Regions from separate parts of the Homo sapiens genome. Here region 2 is linked to region 1. The links are contacts of gene promoters, found by promoter capture Hi-C in blood cells and fetal thymus (Javierre and others, 2016). All regions are on one chromosome and are shown on one strand. The core of a region is centred on a gene start or on the middle of the fragment in contact, and the rest is flanking DNA. Distances in the headings are between cores, read along the strand shown. Region 1 holds the start of SULT1C4 (sulfotransferase family 1C member 4). Region 2 overlaps LIMS1 (LIM zinc finger domain containing 1).

Evidence for each region. The method cuts DNA at HindIII sites, captures the fragments that hold promoters and counts their contacts. A CHiCAGO score of 5 or more calls a contact.
Region 2: a contact is called between a fragment that was not itself captured here and the fragment with the promoter of SULT1C4 in region 1, in 1 of 17 cell types (erythroblasts). The highest score is 5.9, in erythroblasts.

Annotation. Positions count from the first base shown.
Region 1 is chr2:108,373,323-108,380,366 of GRCh38, forward strand. It overlaps SULT1C4 (sulfotransferase family 1C member 4), which reads left to right and starts at 4,632. Exons shown (of 7, transcript NM_006588.4): 1 at 4,632-5,184. The coding sequence starts at 5,016. The HindIII fragment of the contact is 14,120 bases long and covers 1-7,044 here.
Region 2 is chr2:108,575,342-108,582,385 of GRCh38, forward strand. The region is part of intron 1 of LIMS1 (LIM zinc finger domain containing 1); the gene reads left to right. Among named protein-coding and RNA genes, the nearest start is that of LIMS1, 44 kb to the left of the region's middle. RefSeq lists an enhancer at 1-715 and a silencer at 1-246. The HindIII fragment of the contact is 1,538 bases long and covers 3,206-4,743 here.

The DNA.
Region 1 (7,044 bases), core at 3,382-5,881:
GAAAAGATGTTCAATCTCATTACCCATTAGAGAAATACAAAGTAAAACCACAATGAGATACCACAGAACACTTATCAGAATGACTAAAAAAAATACGGACGATACCCGAATACAAAAATACAATTTAACTGGATCTGTAATACATTAATAGTGGGAATACAAAATGATACACCCACTCTGGAAAGTAATTTGGCAGTGCATTGATAACATTAAACTCACACTTACTACGTGGCCCAGCAATCACACTTCTAGATATTTACCTTGAATAGTGGTTGGCAAACTACTTCCACCGGTCAAATCCAACTTTTATTTTAAGAGTGTTGTACAACCGGGCGCAGTGGCTCACACCTGGCTGCTTCCTGCTGGTTGTCTGCTCTCAAACCCTGTCTCCTGATAAGATGTTATCAATGACAATGCGTGCCTGAAACTTCATCAGCAATTTTAATTTCGTCCCGGTCCTATGATCTCGCCCTGCCTCCATTTGCCTTGTAATATTTTATTACCTTGTGAAGCATGTGATCTCTGTGACCCACACCCTATTTGTACACTCCCTCCCCTTTTGAAAATCACTAATAAAAACTTGCTGGTTTTGCGGCTCAGGGGCATCAAGGAGCCTGCCGACATGTGATGTCTCCCCCGGACACCCAGCTTTAAAAATTTCTCTCTTTGTACTCTTTCCCTTTATTTCTCAGATCGGCCGACACTTAGGGAAAATAGAAAAGGACTCATGTTGAATTATCAGGTGTGGGTTCCCCCAATAAAGGTGGTGCCATCTCCACAAAACAAGCTGGGTGAATCTCCAGGCCCAGAGGAGAGGCTGGCAGAGATGCTAACAACTGGAAAGTATGAAGTTTTCCCCATGAGCCAGGGAAAAGAGGCAAGTGGTCACCCAGCTCATGTGCAATTCTGAAAGGCTTTCTGCTTCAGGCATGTTTCTAATCCCACTGATTGAGCTCCTGGAGTTTTTCTGTTTTGGAGTTAGACTTGGCCAGAACTGCTCCCCTACTTATGGTTGACAGATGCAATACAGGATGCCCACTCACATTTGTATTTCAAATAAACAACCAGTGATTTATTTTGAAGAATAAGTATATTCCAAATATTGCACAGAAAATGCATGTACTAAAAATTAATTCACTGTTTATCTAAAATTCAAATTTAACTGGGCATCCTGTATCTATATTTGCTACAGCTGGAAGCTCTACATGACCCAGCATTTGACACAGCTTTTCATTTTTCTGAGAATGTAAGGGGTTCTTAGGTTATGTTTTAAGGAATTGTCTGAAATTATAGATTGCCTACATCCTTGCTTCATCTCACTAAGTGCTTACAGTTACCTCCAACCTCTGAAGCTGATTAAAGTATTATAGCAAAGAGTAATATAATTCATTTGAGTTTCATTTTCTCCCTACTCAGCTCCTGGAATAGTGTACTGCAAACAGAATGGCCTTAAGGCCATCTAAATAGAGGAAGGGGGAAAAGAAGTTATGAATAAACCATATTTATCAATATCTGAACAATCTGGATTTGATTCCAGTTTTAATTATGTGGACTTGTTAGTTCTTCCTCTTGCTTCGGTTTCAAGTATTGAACAACAAATAAGTCATTTACAATACCTCTAAGCTAAATATTGATTCAAAGAACAAAGACCATTACAATTCAACTTTTTCAACACAGGCTTAGCTCACTCTCCAATGGGTATCTTTTTTTTTTTTGAGACCGAGTCTCGCTCTGTCACCCAGGCTGGAGTGCAGTGGTGCAGTCTCAGCTCACTGCAAACTCCACCTCCAGGGTTCAAGTGATTCTCCTGCCTCAACCTCCTGAGTAGTTGGGATTCCAGGCATGCACCATCACGCCTGGCTAATTTTTCTATTTTTAGTAGAGTCAGGGTTTCGCCATGTTGGCCTGGCTAGTCTCAAACTCCTGACCTCAGGTGATCTGCCCACCCTGGCCTCCCAAATGCTAGGATTACAGGCATGAGCCATCGCGCCTGGCCGGGTGTGTTTTAAAACAGTGTGCCGAGTCAAAACGTCTTTTAGACATATTCCTTTTTTTTAATTTTATTTATTTATTTTTTTTTTTGAGATGGAGTCTCACTCTGTTGCCCAGGCTGGAATGCAGTGGTGCGATCTTGGCTCACTGCAAGTTCCGCCTCCTGGGTTCATGCCATTCTCCTGCCTCAGCCTCCCGACTAGCTGGGACTACAGGCACCTGCCACCATATCCGGCTAATTTTTTGTATTTTTAGTAGAGACGGGGTTTCACCGTGTTAGCCAGGATGGTCTCAATCTCCTGACCTCGTGATCCACCTGCCTCGGCCTCCCAAAGTGCTGGGATTACAGGCATGAGCCACCATGCCCTGCCTACATATTCCTTTCGTAAAAAGCAAACAAACAGAGACCTGTTTAAGGGTAGTAACCAGCATGCTGGATTTTACTAACAAAAAAAGAGTTTGGAAACCCCAGTTACAAATTTTGCAAATGAATCACATTTGAGGCCTGAACAAGTTAGTAGTTTGCAAAAAGGACATCTAAAGCGCGTTAAGAGTTGGAATCTCCTCTCCATGCTCAGAAGCAAACAGTGACAGAGTTGAAAGGGAGGTTCAGGGAAGAATTAGAGGGGGAGAGTATATTAGCTTTATCTTGGGTACCCAATATATCCCAAGATTATAGGATACCTTATTTACATCCAACATTACATTAACCCTGTGAGATTAATAAAAAACGAAAGGCTCAGAAGAGATAAGTATTAGAAAAGTTACACAGCTATTAGGGGGCAGTTTAAATTCAAACCCATATATTTAGAATTCCAAAGCAATGCTTGTCAAATATAGACTTAGCACCAACTTTATTCTTATAATCACTAAATATATTTATTTAATTCTCCTAACCTCATGAGAAAGTACTATTGAGTAAAAACATTAAGTGAGAATAAGAGCAGTGTTTGTAGTCAAGATCACTTTTCAAATTATTTGGAACTTCCCATCTTCCCTGGATCTATTTTCAATCCCAGTCAGTCATCTTTGGGTCCAGAAGCATATCCTCCCCCATCTCCCAGCCCTCCCCCTCTAGCACACAACGCACTGGAGAAAACTGCTAAGGCATTGCTGAATATCTACCACTCTACTCTGATGGCACACAGGGCCAAAAAGATTATAGAATAAAATCTAACTGAAAAATTATAGGTGATTTTTATAAGTCTGTTTAAATGCATATGCATCCCAGGCATTCCACCTGGCAGTCTCTGTCTCAAGGGCCCATCCACCTCACCATGGTCTGGAGGGAGGGGATGAGGAATAGGGAAAGCCAAAGAATTGATCTTTTCTGAGTTTGCATCCAGAACATGGGCCACAGAGAAATGGTGAACAAAGTCACCCATTATTATTAACAGCTATGATTTATTCAACATTTCCCTGTTGCCAAGCATTAAATAAGCTGTTTTATCTCCCCACAACCATGAGGTAGATAATGTTAAGATCCCCAATTCAGACCTGAGGAAAAGCGTGATATGAAACAGAGAAAGATTCTGTAACCTGCCATTGCCCACAGCTACTGGGACTTGGCACAGGGTTCAAATACAGGCAGCCTGACTTCTCTCTGAAGGATGTCAAGCCACAGCCACCATACTCACCTAGTCCCCACATAATGATGGCCCAAGGAACTCGCTTCCTCAATTTTTGCTTAGTTTTACTCATTCATTCTTTCGAGAAATAGAAGAATGCCAGACACTAGGCATACAGCTATCAAACAGTGAGAAAACAACAGGCCCCATTTCATGTGCCTTAGAGTGTAGTGAAGGAGACAGAAAATGCCAACAAGTAAACACGCAAAAACTAACTGTCAATGGTTGCTCTAAAGGAACACAAAGTGCCATGAGCAAGGAAATAGGAGGGACCTACTTGAGATGACATAGAAAGTCAAAGAAGGCTTCTCCAGAAAGGGGGCATCAAAGCTGGGACACGAAGAAAGAGAATCAGACAGCCAGACACACAAGAGCCGACAAGATCTCCAGAAGGAGTGCTGCCATGGGGAGCAAGTGTGGCATGGCCCTGGGGTGCAGGCCAGGCCGGGGGCAGGGACTGAAGCAAGTTGTGAAATTTCTGATTATCAGGGGCAGAATGGATTCCTAAGGCAGCCACTGTCTTCTGTTAACTCTGGAGTTTTCTGCATCCCTTTTGCTTTAAATGAGGCATACATGTTTTCATAGCTGTGATGAAACCCCTACAATTCTCCAGTTTAGCATTATTTATTTTACTCTTAAAAAATAACAAAGCTGACCCTGGCAGATGTTTGTACTGGGAGATTCAGATCCATCCAGGCCCCCACTGTTAATAGCCCACGGGAAAGTCCCTGCAGTCTCTCAGGGAAGTCATTCTGTGTAGAATCTGTAATTTCACAGGCAAGTCCTGCAACTTTTTAATTGTTTAAAATTCCCAGAAGGAATAATTACTGAAATTATCTATGAAGGGTTTAATGGACACAGACATGAGAGCTATAAACAATGTGATACTATGTCCTGTTAACTCACAGAGAACGGAAGGGCTGGAACGGGACCCAGCCAGCAGGGTTTGTGACCGCCTCTGCTGTGACGTCACAGCCTGGTGAGGAGGGGGCTGCAGTTCCTCAGGAAACTGCCAGTGGACAAATTCATAAACAAGAGCTCCAGTTCCCTGGAACCTGAGTCGGGAGACCTGCAGCTCACTTTCTCCCTGTTTGCTGGCCAGCAGGGTTTGTGGCCGCCTCTGCTGTGACGCCACAGCCTGGTGAGGAGGGGGCTGCAGTTCCTCAGGAAACTGCCAGTGGACAAAGTCATAAACAAGAGTTCCAGTTCCCTGGAACCTGAGTCGGGAGGCCTGCAACTCACTTTCTCCCTGTTTGCTGGCCCAGACAGGCCTGTGCTAGAGGGCTGGATAGTGTGGTAGTGTGGTGGATAGAGTGCTGCCTCTATCCACAACGCAGCCATATGCTGACTGAAGATAACTTTGTGTCTGGAAGAGCCCTCTGATTTCTTACACTAATGGCCTTACACGACATGGAGGATTTTACATTTGATGGAACAAAGCGCTTAAGTGTCAACTACGTGAAGGGAATTCTTCAACCGACAGACACCTGTGACATCTGGGATAAGATCTGGAACTTCCAAGCCAAGCCTGATGACCTGCTTATTTCTACCTATCCTAAAGCAGGTAGGTGGAAGGGCTTGCAGGGGAAGGGGAAGAGGAGAGTTAGGAAGGTAAGTGGAAGTATGCATTAGTCATGAAATAAAGAAGTTGATCTGGAAAACTCTGGACAGAGTGATATGGCTAAGGAAAGTTACTAGTGGAAACTGAAGCTATACCGAAACATACTAAAATGACATACAAATTTTTAGAATTCAATCTTCCTATGATACTATGATGTACTTCCTTTTTTTTTTTTTTTCACTTTCCCAGGAGAGAGTGAAAACAGTTAAGAGCAAAAGGGTAGACTTGTTTATTTATTCATTCCCAATCTAGGCCCTTATTGTAGATCTTGTAAAAAGCTGCTTTGAGTGTGTGAGCTAGAAAGGTGATCCTGAGTCTGATTTGGGAAAGAAATAGGGGAGCTTTGGTTCTGCAATGCTGATATCACCTCAGCAGCCCTCCCATCTCAGGGTCTGAGAACCATCCTTCTGATTTCCACCTTCCTTTGTGGTAAGTTTTGAACCAACTGCCTTATCTCAACAATCAGTTTAACAAAGTTGTCTGTAAAAGTAGGACTAGCTTAAGCCGAGCCACCACGTCATAAAAATTGGGTGATGATGAGGTGGAAATAGTTCTCTATAAATATTTTTGCATATCTACATATCTACTAGAAATACATTACTGGGTCCACACACAAATTGTATATACATTTGCTCTTTGCAAAATCAAGCTGTCAAAAACTCTTGTTATACACACACAAACACACACACATCAAAAAATCTAAACCTCAGTATTTTCTGAGACTGTTCAAAATCCTCTTTTGTTCTTATCTCTCAAGATCCTGACAGAAGATTCTGCAGGCACATGGAGGCCTTGGTCTCTTCTTTGTCCATCTGTTTCATTTTGGTCCTGATTTCCCAATCTTACTCATCAGGAGCCCATTCAGGATCAAATTTTTCTGAATGTAAATTTCTAAAAGTAGCCACTGGTGAGGATCACATCTCATCATCTTAATTTCATTGACAATTCCACTTGATTATCAATTCAATACATAAATAATCTTTTCTCTATCTGCCAAACGCAAGTACAAAGATATGGTTCATTTAGGTTTTTCATGGCATTAATGAGGTTTAAGCAATTCAAAAAGCACACTAAGAAAATTAAATACTTGCCATCTAAAGTAATATTTAATCATAACTAAAACCATATACATTAATGAAGGCTATTTTATTAGAAGGAAGAAGAAACAAGCATAGATGGCAAAAATAGTTCACCCTAAATTTTTAAAAGAATAATACTCTGAATGACACAAGAAAAAAATACATCATAGAATCACTGGCCTCTAGAGAATAAATTGAGAAGTCATTCCACTCACCCCGGAGCCTCTAGCAACATTTGAATCTGCCCTCATGTTGGCTCATGTCTATAAATTCATTCAATTCATTCATTATAGACATTCAGTGTTATGGCTATAAATTCCCATAAAACTAGTACAAATGGCTGGACTATTCTTTGCATGGATAGCTAAAGATATCTTGGCCCTTTGTCCTGTAATAAAAGTTGCTGCCAGAAAATACAGGAGACCAACTACTATAAAATATAAAATGTAATTTAATTTTTTTCTAACCTATGCCCTTATTCTAGGCCTTTAAAAGCACTAAATTGAGAATATGGGAAAAGGAATCTATAGAGTTTCGGCCAGATAATACAGGAAAGATCAACCTAGATCAGGATTCAGAAAGCCATCCTGGCTAGGCATGGTGGCTCACACCTGTAATCCCATCACTTTGGGAGGCCAAGACAGGGGGATCTTTTGAGGCTAGAAGATTGAGACCAGCCTGGGCAACATAGGGAGACTCCTATGTACAAAAAAAAAATAAAAAT
Region 2 (7,044 bases), core at 2,725-5,224, 200 kb after region 1:
CCAACGTGGTGTTGATGGCTGTGAAACCTGAGTCCTCTCAGTTAGCTGAAATAGTAGAGATTTGCTGCCCTTACGGCTCACAGAGCTGCAGCCTAGCAGGTGCTGTTACTTCTTTGTTTAAAGCGTGTTAGCCATCCAGATGTTTCTAGCTCTTTCTCTTTCATCAGAGAACATTCTTCTTGAAATTTAATGTGGAGGCCCTTTTGCTCTGGTGCATTTTCTTACTCCAAATTCCTGCATTTGTCACCACTTAGTCACAGTCAGGCTATTGGGCTAAGTGGTCTGGGTGAACACTGATGTTAGAGTTGCAGGGTTTGCTGCAGCCCACCTCTTGTTCTCCAGCTTCCTTTTAGGCATCGTTTATTTTTATTCTTTAAAGTATTTTATGTTTTGATTTGTTATAACTATTGCAGAAATCAATCCTGAGTCATCAGGGTTGTTTAGTCTTTCTCCTTTTGTGCGTTTGTGTGTGTGTGGTATTATTCATTTTGGCTGTTTGGATGGCATGTGATACAGCATTTTTTATTTTGTAGCCAAAACCAAACCAAGAGGTTGCCAACAGGACAGAAAAAAGCAGCAAGATAATATTAATAGGCACGTGTGCTTGCACCTGATCAGGAAGCAGGCACCTGGGGCCAGGATTTGAAGTCTTTCTATACCTGGGAGTGGGGAAAGGCCTGGTCTTCATGTCAGTGTTAGTCTGGAAGTAGTGACAGAGACTTAGCAGTTACTGGGTTTTCCTACTCATTTTAGTACTGTTCTTGATAAGGTTTTAGTATTTATGTATGTGAAAATAACTTTTGAAGTCTTTAAGATCATCACCTTGACTGAACGAGAGCTAATAGGTTTTATTCATTCCTGCAAAAGGAATAGAATAGAACTTGTCATACTGGGTCAGTACCAGTTATGGGTCAACTAAGCAAGTTTTGTTTTGTTTTGTTTTGTTTTGTTGAGACAGGGTCTGTATTGCCCAGGCTGGTCTTGATCCTGGGCTCAAGCAATCCTCCTGCCTCAGCCTTCTGAGTAGCTGGAATTACAGGCATGCACCTCATTGGCTAACAAGTTGTTTTTCTTTTTGAGATGGAGTCTCGCCCTCTCACCCAGGCTGGAGTGCAGTGGCATGATCTTGGCTCACTGCGACCTCTGCCTCCCGGGTTCAAGCGATTCTTCTGCCTCAGCCTCCCGAGTAGCTGGGATTACAAGCACGTGCCACCACACCTGGCTAATTTTTGTATTTTTAGTAGAGACAGAGTTTCACCATATTGGCCAGGCTGGTCTCAAACTCCTGACCTCATGATCTGCCTGCCTTGGCCTCCCAGACTGCTGGGATTACAGGTGTGAGCCACCGTGCCTGGCCACAAGTTAAAGTGCCCTTTAGAGTGAGCCTTATGCCTCACATTACAGTGGCTAAGAAGCTAAGGGACAAAGTTCCCAGTCTCAGAGGTTATAATCTAGTAGGGAAGAGTAAATAAGTCTCAGATTTATCTTGATACATGGCAACATTTGGTAAATATCCTAAAAAGAGGTACAGAGCAATCAGGATTCAAGGACAGGGAGAACTCCCTGAGGTAGGAGGGAACGTGCCAACAGGAGTTTCTGGCCATCCCAAACAGGGATGCTCATGGCTGCCACAGCTTCACATTTCCTTATACCATTGTTTGATTTTCACTAGTATGTCCAAATTCCTTGAAAATGGGTTTTAAACTTCCAGAAAACAGTACGATCTCTCAGAACTGTGAGTGCACTCAACATGTTTTATGATTGACCTTTTCTTGTGTCTCCCTTGAACTATAAGCTCATTTGAAACTAGTTAACTGAGTCTTATTGCTGTTGCCTGAGAAGCTAGCACAGTGCCTGACACACTGTTAAGTCAGTGCTCTTTCAAGTTACTCCCTGAGAATTCCCTTTCCCTCTCCCACTTCGTGAACCACAGCTAATACAGACTCACTTCCGTGATGAACCCGGTAAGGCCTAGGCCTTTCTTGCTGCTGCTGCATTTCGCAGCGCTTTGCAGATGCTGCCTCTGCTGTGTCACGACAGAATATTGCAATATGTTTTGTGTGTACATCGCAGTCTAGGAAGTTACTCCGGGCTCTGCCTTAGTTATCCTTATGTGCCCCGTACCTATAGCAGTTAGTGATATGGTAGTCATTGGGTAAATATTCACTGAAATGAAAATGGAAGTTTTCAATGTGTATGTATTTGTTTTCTACTTACCCCTATTTTAATGGTACAGAGTGGGTAAGGGTAGGTTAACACTTGCATTTGCTCAAAAGTTAATTTTTACAATAACTAAATGTTTTTACATTCTTAAAATGTATTTTACATTCTTAACAAACATGAATCTATATTGTAGTACTTTATTTTTTAAGAGAGAGAGAAAAAAGGTGCTTCAGATGTTCTTACAAAGCTGTTTAGCATTTCTGGGAACTTAATAAAGTATTTTGGCTCAGCAGTTAAAAAATGAAAATCTATTTTTTCTGAGAAATAAAGTCTTGCCCATCTGTTCTCTCCTCTTACCGTGTGACTGTTAAATGCTATTCTGAGATTGTATGTTTTGTTTTGTTTTGTTTTGTTTTTTGAGACGGAGTCTTGTCTTGTTCTGTCGCCCGATCTAGAGTGCAGTGGCACAGTCTCGGCTCACTGCAACCTTCACCTCCCAGGTTCAAGTGATTCTCCTGCCTCAGCCTCCCGAGTAGCTGGGATTATAGATGTCCGCCACTGCGCCTGGCTAATTTTTGTATTTTTTAGTAGAGATGGGGTTTCACCATCTTGGCCAGGCTGGTCTCGAACTCCTGACCTCGTGATCCACCCGCCTTGGCCTCCCAAAGTGCTGGGATTACAGGCATGAGCCACCGCGCCCAGCCTGTATGTTTTGATACTATAGAGAGGTATACAATAAAATTGCCTGTTAGTCACCATTTCTAATTATGGTTCATTTTATCATTCAATTATTTTTAAGAGCTTATTAGCATGTGTATATGTAAAGATGTGTTTCATATATTTTTAATCTCTACATCCTTTCATATTTTGTTATACTCTCTTTAAATGCAAGCACTTATTTTGAAGTAGTTTTAAATGTTATAATATCTCCACCATATGAAATAAGGAATATCTGCACTTTCCTCCACCCCCTTCTCTGAGATTACTGCAGCCAGAAGGTTAATGCCTTAGCTGAACTCTTAAAAGCATTTCCGTTATCATAAGCTTAAGAAATGTTTGTCTTAGTTCATGGAATGTAAATAATTTTTTTTTTTTTTTTTTTTTTTGGAGACGGAGTCTCTCACTGTGGCCCAGGCTAGAATGCAGTGGCACGATCTCAGCTCACTGCAAGCTCCACCTCCCAGGTTCACGCCATTCTCCTGCCTCAGCCTCCCAAGTAGCTGGGACTACAGGTGCCCACCACCACGCCTGGCTAATTTTTTTGTATTTTTAGTAGAGATGGGGTTTCACTGTGTTAGCCAGGATGGTCTCAATCTCCTGACCTCGTGATCTGTCTGCCTCAGCCTCCCAAAGTGCTGGGATTACAGGCGTGAGCCATTGCTCCTGGTCATGAAATGTAAATAATTTTTAAATCTAGTTTACAAAGAAAAATGATGATGTAGGGATATCATTTTTTTGTTCCTCAAGAATAAATTTAGTCTTAAATTTCAGGTTAGCATCCTGGATTCATTATCCTATATCACTTTTTGGTATGCATTCATGGGATTTTGTAGGCAGTTTCATGCCAAAGTGTTGTGTTTTCCAAAGTCCAATTTTTTTTGACTGGTTTAACTAACATTCATTTTGAGATGATTCCAAATTTTGTAACAAAAACAACTTATATTTGAATTTTCACCTTTATAATTTTAAAAAATCTATTCTGTAGCCCTGAGATTTGGACAAAATGGTAATTATGTTATTTTATGGATATTAAAGCTGAATATAAAGAATTTTTATCGAACCAAGATGTCACAGCTCTTATAGTAAGTGGCATGATTAAGACTATAATTTTACTTGTACTCAGTGTACCTTCTACCACTATATAATGTTTCCAAGCATATGAACTTATTACTAGTCTGTATCTATGGTTTTCAGTGATGTTAAATGTGTTTTTAAAAATTTTATTAATATGTAATACACAAGAGTGCAAAAATCTTAAGTGCACAACTTAGGAATTTTCACAAAGCAAAAGCATGGTCAAATGATTTGGACTATGAATTAATATTAAAATACAATGAATTTAATATTGGATGCCTAGAGTCTCTTGATTCCAGAGAAATACATTTATTTTTAAACTTGTGTTACACTTCCCTGAATACTCATTTGAAGTGTTTCTGATTTCCTCATTTGCTCATTTGTTTGACAGTATTCACAGCGAGCCTGCCCTCTGCCAGGCATGACTGGCATGGGGCACAGCTGTGAACAGGAATCATCACTTGTAACTTGAGGTCAGACTAAAGGACACAGGCAAATTCCTGTGGAGCAAGAGGGCCTTCCGGAGAACTTCCCAGAGGAAGCGACCTCTTGACTGAGTCCGAGTGTGAATGGGAATCATCCCAAGAAGAGTTTAGGGAGGAAGGCAAGAGGCACCAGGCCAGGAGGGCTGTTGAGATGTGACAGGCAGATCCGCAGGGCTGCAGCCTGTGCAGTGAGGGCTGGAGCTGGGGGATGCCGGGTGGGAGCAAGGACAGCCAGGTCCGTTTTTACTGGCACTGTAGTTTCCTTGATTATCAACAACAGGAATAGACTCAGGCAAACAGAAGCTTCAAAGAAATTTACTGGAAAAATACTGGGGTTGCTCCCAGAATTGAAGAATGGGCTGAACTTACAGGTCTCTGAGAAGGGCAAACAACTAGGGCTTTCCCGGTGTCTCTGCAGAACTTGTGGGATGTCTCTATAGAGCAGTGCTCTGAGTTGACTTCCTCTAACTGCAGGGTGTTAGTCTCTACTCAGATTTCTAGTCTTTGAGAAATAGTATCTGATTAACTTAGTTCAAGTCCATAGTCCAAATGGACCAGGACCAGTCATTGTGGCCAGAGGATAGGAAGAAGCACCATGCCTAGTCAATCAAGGTAGGTGACTGTTAGGTGGTCAGGACAACTAGATCTGTTACCTGAAACAGAGAGTGGACGACATGGGTACCCATGTGGATGACATGACCACCCAGAAGGCAGTGTTACGGTAGCTCAGAGAAGAGGTGGTTTGGGAACAGTGATTAGGAAAGAGGGATGTTCAGAGGCCAGTTACAAGGCTGTTGCATTAATCCACATAGGAGGTGATGGTGCCAGAAGTAGATGCAGCCTGTACAGATATAAAGTAGTAAATCGATTCAGAAACAGTTAAGAGGCAGAGAAGAAAGGACTTTGCAGCTGGACATTGGGAGGTGTGTGAGGATGATTAAGTTGTTGAAGATGACTCTCAGGTTTCTCGCTTGGACTAGAACCATTGTGTTCATAGTGGTCCCTTGCATGGAGGAGAGAGAGTTTCAGGAGGGGGATGGGGCTTTCATTCAGTTATGAAGTAATAAGTTGGAGTATCTAAGCAGACCACATTTAATTTAAGAACACTTGGGTATGAACAACACTTCCCCATTAAATTACTTGTGGGGTTCCAGCTCTGCCATCAGGGCCCTCTCACTCCAGCATCGTGGCCTCTGCCAAGGTTGTTACTCTCTTTTTGTGTCCCTGGGCTGCTGAAATCTTCTCACCGTATTGCCATGGAATTTGTAACGTGCTTCCTTCTGCTTCCCTACCTTAGGCAGGTTTGGGTCTGAGTGGGTTTTGGAATGAGTATTGTTAAAGGAAGTTAAAATGAAGACCAGGCCTGTGAAATCTCTGAGCGCACAAAACCAGTTAGGCCTTATATGTTACCTCAGCCTTGCTTAAATTGCAGACATAAGCAGAACAAGTAGAGTCATTTTGATAAATGTTTATGTTAGAAGTAAAACTTAACCCCCGCCAGTCGTAAGCTGCCAACTAACATATGACTAAGTGACTAGGGGCTTTCCAACAAGGTACCTAAAAAAAGGCAATTCTGTAATTTCAAATCAATCAAATAATTTCTTTATTTTGCTTCTACGTTTCCCAGTAAATACTTGTCTCTGACTTTTTGTCATTGGGACACTAAAACTTTTTTCGTCTGGTGTTCCCCAATTCATGAATTGCTTCTTACTCAAATAAACTCTTTAAAATTGTATTGTTCCTCAGATTTTTCTTTTATAGTAACTTTCCCAAACTCAGAAAGGCCCCCAGAGCTTAGGGGCTTTTAGGACTAAGTGCTGCTATTTAGGGCTCTTTCTTAGATGTTATTATGTTTAGAAGAGGCTTGCTATAGGCTGGGCACGGTGGCTCATGCCTGTAATCCTAGCACTTTGGGAGGCCGAGGCAGGCAGATCACCTGAGGTCAGGAGTTCAAGACCAGCCTGACCAACGTGGTGAAACCCCATCGCTACTAAAAATACAAAATTACTCGGGAGTGGTGGCGCATGCCTGTAATCCCAGCTACTAGGGAGGCTGAGGCAAGAGAATTGCTTGAACCCAGGAGGCAGAGGTTGCAGTGAGCCAAGATTGTGCCATTGGACTCCAGCCTGGGCAACAAGAGTGAAACTCCATCTCAAAAAAAAAAAAAACAAACAAAAAATACTTGCTATATGATGACACTGTTTTCTTGATATAGTCAGAGTTTGAAAATATTTCAAGTTGGGGACTTCTTTGATTAAAATGTAAAGTTGATAAATGAATTTAGTTACAGTGCTTTAGTTTTACTAGTATTCAATGTTGTGTGATATTGATGAGTTAAGTCAAACCCTGACAAGCGGTTCCCTTAGGTACTTCAGTGAGTACTTCTAGCATTAATGCTTAATGGCCTCAGAAATCCTCTGGGTCTGTCGTCCTCAGCAGATCTGAAACTGTTCCCTAAGGAGCAAGTGGGAACTTGTGGAGCATTTTTAGTTTATCTCGATGGTTTCAGGAAAGGGGTACCATAGGCACTAAATGGCCTGAGGCCAGAGATGCTGAATGTCATGAAGTATGCATCCACAGGACTTTGATGCTGGTTAAAAAC